Linked DNA regions of Homo sapiens: region 2 is linked to region 1. Evidence: promoter capture Hi-C in human tissues and cell types (Jung and others, 2019). All regions are on one chromosome and are shown on one strand. The core of a region is centred on a gene start or on the middle of the fragment in contact, and the rest is flanking DNA. Distances in the headings are between cores, read along the strand shown. Region 1 holds the start of STXBP6 (syntaxin binding protein 6). Region 2 has its middle 81 kb from the start of LINC02286.

Evidence for each region. The method cuts DNA at HindIII sites, captures the fragments that hold promoters and counts their contacts. A contact is called where the count stands out against the background at its distance.
Region 2: a fragment that was not itself captured here is called in contact with the fragment with the promoter of STXBP6 in region 1 in 5 of the 25 tissues and cell types used here (bladder, heart right ventricle, hippocampus and 2 more).

What each region holds. Positions count from the first base shown.
Region 1 is chr14:25,047,971-25,052,413 of GRCh38, reverse strand. STXBP6 (syntaxin binding protein 6) reads left to right here and starts at 2,267. Exons shown (of 6, transcript NM_001394410.1): 1 at 2,267-2,536. It overlaps LOC124903295 (a long non-coding RNA gene), which reads right to left and starts at 2,070. Exons shown (of 2, transcript XR_007064091.1): 1 at 1,980-2,070; 2 at 1-188. The HindIII fragment of the contact is 10,437 bases long and covers 1-4,443 here.
Region 2 is chr14:25,235,645-25,239,633 of GRCh38, reverse strand. No RefSeq gene overlaps it. Among named protein-coding and RNA genes, the nearest start is that of LINC02286, 81 kb to the right of the region's middle. The HindIII fragment of the contact is 5,841 bases long and covers 1-3,989 here.

The DNA of each region.
Region 1 (4,443 bases), core at 1,018-3,517:
AAAATGCTTCCCATAGATAAGCAGTGGTTTGTTCTCCATGAATGCAGCAACAAATTAGGTTACCTGCAGGGAGAATCACCTCCCACACTAAGGTAGGTCCCAGGTGTTTGAGGCAGACACTACCGTGATGACCGGTACATGAGTTAGAGAACACTTTGTACAGAGGGAGAGAGTCCTCTTGACTAGATCTGCAATATTGAGAACAAAAAGAGGCAAGTGAAGATAAAAAAGGAAGGTAGTAGAGGGAGATGACTGGCAATAGAAGCTAGTACAGTAGTATCTTACTTCACAAAATTATTGAGTTACCCAAAAGCTGATTCCAAAGTTTTGTAAATATCATCCCAACACATTAGAAAGGCTTGCTAAATTAAAGAAGCTTGCTACTTAGAGCTTTTGTCAAGCAAAAAGGCCCTTATTTCAATTCAAATTTTACATAGATGACTTGTAGGTAAGAACTCTCAACATTTTCAAAGCCCTTAGACATACATTTCTTTGGATTCTCACAAAAACGCCATGAGAATTGTTTTCCCTTCCACAGATGAGGAAAGTGAAGCTTAGAGGTTGAGCCACTTGCCCATGGAAGCCTGGTAGGGAAATGGCTGAGGTTAAGACCAGGACCCCGGCACACTACTCATTGGCACTAAGGTAGCCCCATGACATGTCTCTACAGAGATAGGCAGAGCAAAAGAAACTTACTTTTTCAGGCAATTTTCTCTGATTTTCATAAAACTGTAGCTACCAAATGGGGATACCTAGGGTATCAGTTTTATGATATCCTAGGTATCCCCGTTTCTCCCATTCTTCCCCTCCAAACCATCTTCCTGGGTCTGCTGCCCTGTCCATCTTCACAGAATTCAGTTCGGATTGTCTCCTCCCCCAGCATCTCTGCTATCTCCACGTAGTCTACAAACTAAGTGCAGGAGCCACAGACTGACAGTCAGGACTTCTGCCTGAGCCCCCATCCACAGCTCAAACCCTCTTTCCTATTTCACTATGCTAATGCTTACCCCTTGCACTCCAAACAAGCAGGTCTGTGTACCACCATCTAACACCCCAACAGGGCCAGGCTAGGGTGAGGTGAGTCACAGCACTTAAAGGTTCACCAAAGAATTCAGTAATCAAGGTTAATATTTTAATGGAATATTTAAAAAAATCAAAATTAATATCAAAAATGCATGATGAAAAATAACAAAATTTTAAATAAAGACAGGGTAAGTTTAGGGGTTTTTCCTATTGCTTCAGGCTCAAAAGTGCCTTCCGGGGCACTGTTATCGGCCCTGCAGTGACTCCCCACACAGATACTTTTACTAATGATGTTTCCCAAAAGTTAGTTCTTACAACCGCTTTCTACATTAGTAACGTCTTTCTTCTTGAACGCTCCAGCATTTAAGTGTAGCGCTCTACTGTCAGGAAAACCCATTTCCCCTAGTAACTAGTAGTACTTCGAAGATATTCTGAATCATCTTGGATCCTTTCCAGCACTTTCCCAAACCACAGTGAGCACTCAGCACCACTTCGCTAAAAGAGTGCAGAATCACAATGCTCAAATCACTGTCTGGGGGGTTCAGCAGGGAGGGGACGCAGATATGTTTTGTTTAGTCCAGGGTGTTTTGAGAAAATTGAATTTGTTATCAAGATTTTACAAATCAGGATATTGTACATGAATATACTCCGTCATTTCTGGAAAAATCAGAAAATCTAGCAACACTAGGTCTAATTCTTGCCCGATAGCAAGGGACCCTGAGAGCAGATAAGCGGCCCTGCCTTCGGAGCTCTCTCCAGTTCGCCTTCCCCCAGTTACAGTGCCTGTCAGGCCCCATTAGATCTTTGAGTTTGCTATCGTAAGAATAAAGGAAGGAGCGCACAGGATAAAAACCCATCGGCTGGGTCTATTCGTTTTTTCCTAGAGAAAAAAAAAAATGTTTCCTGGTTGTCCTTTCGAATATAGTCTCACAGAGAAGCTCACAGAAGCAGCCCACCTTTCTAGCCCACAAACTTCCCACAAGCCGTGAAAGTCGCACCGGCTCTTGCACCCAGATCGGTTTCTCCCGGGTCTTTGGCTCAGGGCCCCCGCCCCTACATTGGCCTTTCCCTTCCTCTGCCACCTCCGCGCTCCGAGGCCTGGGGCGGGTCGCGGGTCCCGGCCCCCAGCCCCCAGCCCCTAGCCGCTGCTCTTTGCCCCGGGCCAGGGCGCTCGGGCTCGCCCACGGCGGCACTGAGCATGCTCAGAGGCGGCCGCGCGGGCAGGTTTGCTTCGCAGGCGCTCGCACTCGGCGGCGGGCGGGCGCGCGGCTGCAGCTGGAGCTCCAGCGCCCGGAGTTGGAGTTGCCGGGAGTTTCCCCCCAACCCCTCCCTTTTCGCGCGCGGCAGCAGGAGCCGGCGCGGGAGCCGCGAGCGGCGGCGAGCCAGCACCCGGGCCGGCTAAGCCTTGTCCGGAGCCCGGAGCCCCGCGCGGGGCAGCCCCCCGGGGAGGAGCCTCGTGCTCTGGGACGCGTGCCGCGCACTGGCACGGCAGGGGCGCGAGCCAGGCTGCACGGTAGGACCGGGGCGAGGGGAGCCAGGCGGTCAGGGCGGAGGCCAAGCCCGGGAGATGCGGTTGCAGCCGCCACGGCTGTTGGGGCGCCTGGCGCTCCGTCCGAGGCGGGTGGCTGTGAGGCCAGGGGAGTAGGCAGGCTCCCAGAGAGATTCTTCCAAGTTGGCGGGTGGCGGGAGAGGGGGCCGCGCGCCCCGGCGCAGCTGCTTTGTGCGCGCAGAGAGGGACTCGTGTCCCTGGTTCTCTCCAACCCTGGGACCCGTTGTGCGGGCAGTATTGGGCAAGCCGCAGAACGGAGCGATTTCCTCCGAGAAAGTTGAGGATGGAGCCTTTTTTTCCGCACCGTCCCCGCGATGGCATGGGCCCCGAGAATGCTGCCCCGAGGCTCCCAGTGTGGGGGAGCTCGGGGTCGCTGCGCCTCTAGCTTGAGCGCAGAAATCCGCGAATCACTCCGATCTTCGCGAACTCTGGCATCTTCTAGGAAAATCATTACTGCCAAAACTGAGGCGAGCTTTTCTGGCGGGCACGGCACCCTGCCCCCAGGGCGCTGGCCCTGGGCGATGCCCCCTTTCCGATCTCAGGCTTGGTCAAGGGCGCCAGGTTCCGAATTCGCGCTTGCCGTGCACGCCGGCATCGAGCCTCACCAACACCGCCGGGCAACGTGGCTGGAGTAGGTGGGTGGCTTGATTTTCCCTCCAACCTTTCCTCAGGTTTACAACACCCCGCCACCTCACCACCCCACCCCGTTCATCTTCACAGAGGACAGGACCTGCAGGTGGAGAATTTGGAAAGACATCTTGTTCTTTAGGAGAAAGTCCCCGGGGTGTATCTGCCCTTGGTTCTGGCCCCAGGATTTCATAACGAACCTTCTCCCCTTCCTATTACGCTTCCCTAGGGACTGGGTGGGAGAGAATAGGATCGGTAGGTCCGCAGGAACTTCCATCTCATTCCACCCTCTCCTAAGATTGCCTTCCGGGCGACCCCAGGACCCTGGAACTGGCATTGTGCGGATTGTAAGGCTGTGGAGGATGCCGACGAATTTTTCCTGGCTCCACTTTTTTCACTTCTTGTTTTGAGTTTTGGGGTTTTGCCTGCACACTAGTCAGAGCTGCGCCCTAGTCAGAGCCACCCTGGGGGTGGAGGAGCTTCAGCCGAGGCTGTGAGCTGCTGTTCGTCTCAGAGGCTGCTAGTGGGAATCGGTCCAGAAATGATTATGCAGGCTAGAAATATGCCTCTCTTTTTTTCTTTTTTGGCTGAACACCTTGGCTGTTGGGTTTGTGTGTTACGTTCTTAAAGGGACACCCTCACACTGCTCAAGTGCCAGGATTTAGGGGCTCACCATTCTGCTGCCTGTTTTTCTCTTTGCTTTTTCCTTGAGGGTAGTCTGCTTTGGGGCCGATTTCTAGATGTGCGAATCACATAATGTGGATACACTACACAGTTCTAGAGTCAGACAGACTTGAGGTCAAGTTTCAGCTTTACAGCTGATGACAGTGCTGATGGACAAATGATTAGTCACTCTGAACTTAAGTTTTCTCTTCTGTCAAACGGAGATAATCGTGGCCTTACCTCCCTCCATTGCAGGGTTGTTGTAAACTCAGATGAGATAATGAAAATGAAAAGAGCTAAGAAAACTTTAAAAGCACCATTCAGGTCTTAGATATTGTCTCTGTGCTCTTTACTCAGTTGTTTTGAATGAGCTAATTCTTAATTATAACAAGACATCTAGGTCTTCTCTCCTCTCTGTCCACTCCTCACCAAGTGGTTTAGTTGCTTGGGCCTTTGGAAGCATCTGTTTACCCTTTTTCTTTCTCTATCCTCAAATCCATCTCTTTTGATTTTAAGAATTGGAGCTCCAGTCCTCATATTTATCTGAGGAAGGCAGCATGATGTAGATTAGGAGATGACTG
Region 2 (3,989 bases), core at 1,065-3,564, 190 kb before region 1:
TTTTAGGTCTCAAATTTACTTAGATGGAATAGTTGAGTAATCTCATTAAATCAATCCTTTTTAAAACCTCATTAAATCAAATTTAAAAGTAAATAAACAAGTGAGTCCATCTCATTGAAACTAAAATGTTAACAAACATGAAGATTTTTTTCATCATATACATATTTTGTGTGTGTGTCCTCATTATCCAGCATTATACTCAACTGAGTATGTGATTATACTGAGAAATGTGATTTCAATTACCTTCATTCATCTTAGCATTTTGTGACTTATTGTGCAATATTTGCCAAGCCTTAGAAAAAAGTAATTTGCCCAAAAGATAAATCTCTATCTCTATAGTTGAAATTACATATTGGAAATTTTGGCAGGTAATGTGGGCTTTCTGAAAACAAATCTTTAATTTTTTTCCAAAATATGTAATGTTTTCTTTCTGTTCTATTGCTATCAATTCGAGTGTCTCTTGCTTTAAAAGTACTTATAAAGAGGAAAGAAAGAACTTCTATTTAAATTTTGCATAAACAATTTATTTTCATTCTAGCCTTAAATTGTAAAAACACTGGTTTCTAAATTTAATTCCATTTCCAAAAATGCCTACCACTTGCAGCTTCTCTAATTCTTCCCATCACCTCACAAAGCCTCCTCAGCCTCCGGTGGTATATGGCAGCCTTCAAATTCTCACAGCAAGCGTCACCATCCTGCCGAATTTTATGATCCCTATCATTTCACTTCTTTACCATTGTTTGATGCTGTTGTTTTTTTCACTCTACTCCAGAGCACAAAAAAATTGACTGTCTTCGTTGATAATACATATTCAAAGATTAAAATCATAAGTTTGTCATTTTTTTCTAAATCTTTTTATTACTGTTTAAAAAATGTATTCTTCATTTTGTAGAAAATAGCAGTCTTCTGTTAATTAACATATAACATTTAATTAAAATCTAATGATCCCATATACTTACATTATGCCTACATAAATAAGCTCAAAGATAAGTTTTAGAATTGTTCTAATTCATTCTCGGTGCTCTAATTTATTTCTATAATTTCACCTCAATTCTACATCTGTGTGGTAGGCAAAAGCAGGAATTATTTCACTAGTATTTCAGGGAGAGAAAAATGGAGTCCTTATGAAATTTTCTTTCCTAATTACATGTGTATTTGTGGCCACTCCCCTTCTCTTTTACCCAAAGCCCATCTAGCATGTGTTTATGCAGATTCAGATGCCTGTAATGGTGAATTCAAGGTAGCAATCACCCTGATGTTGGTCCCAAGATTGTTTTAAAAAAAGAAAAACATATCAAGTTAGCAGATACACGCAAAGAGAAAAATACTTGAAACTTCTGAAGAGTAAAGGGTCTAAGACAGCACTATCCAAAGAACTTTCTGCAAGGTTGTGAGTATTCATCACTTGAAATGTGGCTAGTCTGACTGAGGAACTGAGTTTTTAACTTTATTTACATTTAAATAACCACATGGGGTTAGGGGCTGTTATTTTGGACAGTACAGGGTCGAGAAGCTAAAAGGGACCTAGTTTTCTTTCAGTGCCTCATGGGGGCGCTGGGAGAGAACAAAAGCTCTAACTTGAAGAAGCTGAACAGTGAAGCGGAGCGAGCACAAGATGAAACATTGAAGAACAGGCATCCCGGGCCGTGATTGCTCCACAAGCTGGAGCAAGTCATTTGGCCCTTTGTTTCCCATCTGTGAGTTGGGAGCACAACTATGTCTGGCACATTTCACAAATTTTCTGTGATACTCCAAATAAAACCACAAAGAAGAAAACCTGAAATTGTAGTTCAGACTCATTCAGATGTACTGTCTTGTGCTACTGTTCATTGACTCAGGGTAAGCTCCAATATACCCAGCTCTCTTAATCAGATTCCCCAAAAGTAAACATGAGAGGGAGATTTCTGTGCTAGTGATTTATTAAGAAACTGCTCCCAGAGAAACCAGGAAAAGAATGAGGAAGCAGGACAGGAAAGGGGAAGAGGACAAGCCAAGTCCCAGGCTTTGCCAGATTCTCAGGGCAGCTCTGGGGTATAAAGTTTGTCTCAGCTGAAGGTAAGGGAGCTCGACTTTCAAAGCCCTCATCACATAAGGCTATGAAAGCCCATGACTTCCTGGAGGACATACAACTCCAAGCATTTTCAGCTTGTGTTTGTGTTTGTGTGTCAGTGTGTGTACACCCTCATGCACATATACATGCATGGATGCACTTTCAGCTTGTGTGTGTGTGTGTGCACTCTCATGCACATATACATGCATGGATGCACTTTCAGCTCGTGTGTGTGTGTGTGTGTGTGTGTGTGTGTGTACCCTCATGCACATATACATGTATGGATTCACCTTCAGCTCGTGTGTGTGTGTGTGTATGCGCCCTCATCCACATACACATGCAACGAATGCTACAGGCATCATGAAGCACTTCTAGTACTCCAAATACAAGGAACTTCAAAAAGGTTATAGAATAATAGAATTAGAAGATAAAAATTAAAACTATAAGCTTTATTTCTCAACATAAGTTCCATCAAGTTTAAGACACTTTTATAAGCGATATCAGCCATTTAGTCCATCCCTGAAGAACTGAAGGTCCTGAGAATTTAGCCATGGCAATGAAGACTTTTTACATTATAAACTGAAGAAAAATTGGTTCCCTTTAAAGTTTTTTTTAAGATTAGGAAACAAAATAAGTAAGAAAGCATCAAATAAAAACTGTAAGGTGGATACCTTATGATTTTCCATCAAAATTCTTGCAAAATTTCCTTTGTTTGATGAGAGGAAGGAGCAGGAGTATTGTCGCGGTAGAGAAAGACTCCAGTGAAGCTTTCCTGGGGGTTTTTCTGCTGAAGCTTGGGATCACTTTCCCAAAACACTCTCATAATATGCAGAAGTTATCATTCGTTGGTCCTCCAGAAGGTCAACAAGCAAAATGCCTTGAGCATCTCAAAAAACTGTTGTCATGACCTTTGCTCTTGATTGATCTGCTCTGGCTTTGACTGGACCACCTCTAACGTTTGATAGTCATTGCTCTGGTTGTGCTTTAGCTTCAGGATTGTGCTGGTAAAGCCATGTTTCATCTCTTGTTACAATTCTTGGAACCAGTGCTGTAGGAAATTGATCCCACTTATTTAAAAGTTCCATTGAAAGCTCTGCTCTTGTCTGCAGCTGGTCTGGGTGGAACAGTTCTCTACCCATCATGTGGAAAGTTTGCTCAACTTTTTCAGTCAGAACTGTGTAAGCCACACCAGTTGAGATGTCTATTGTGTTGGCTATTTTTTCTGCTGTTAATCATCAATCCTCTTCAATTAGGGCACAAACAAGATTAATTTTTTCCTGGAAACTTTATGTGGATGGTCTGACATTGTGAGCTTCATCTTCAACATCATCTCATCCCTTTTTAAAATGAGTTATCCATTTATAAACTGCTGATTTCTTTGGGGTATTATCCCCATAAACTTTTCATAAAGGATCAATGATTTTACCATTCTTTCTTCCACCCAAGCTTCACAATAAGTCTGGTGTTTGTTCTTTCTTCAATTTTCGAAGAAGTCATGCTGTTCTGATAGGAGCTCTTTTCAAACTCATGTCTTATCTTTCTTAGTACCTCAAACTAGATTCTGTTCAGTGTTATAAGTTAGTACAAGTTAATTTTGACACAAAATTTTTTTTCAACTCTGTGCATAGCTGTGGTTTTTTTTCAACTTTTATTTTAGATATAGGTGGTACATGTGCAGGTTAGTTACATGGGTATATCGACCTCAGGTAGTGAGCAAAGTACCAAGTAGGTAGTTTTTCAACCCATCTCCCACTTCTTCCTCCACTTTCCTGTAGTCCACAGTGTCTATTGTTCCCATGTTTATGTCCATGAGTGCTGAATGTTTAGCTCTCTGTTATAAGTGAGAACATGTGGTATTTGGTTTTCTGCTCCTATATTAATTCACTTAGAATTATGGCCTCCAGCTCCATCCATGTTGCTGCAAAGAACATGATTTAAT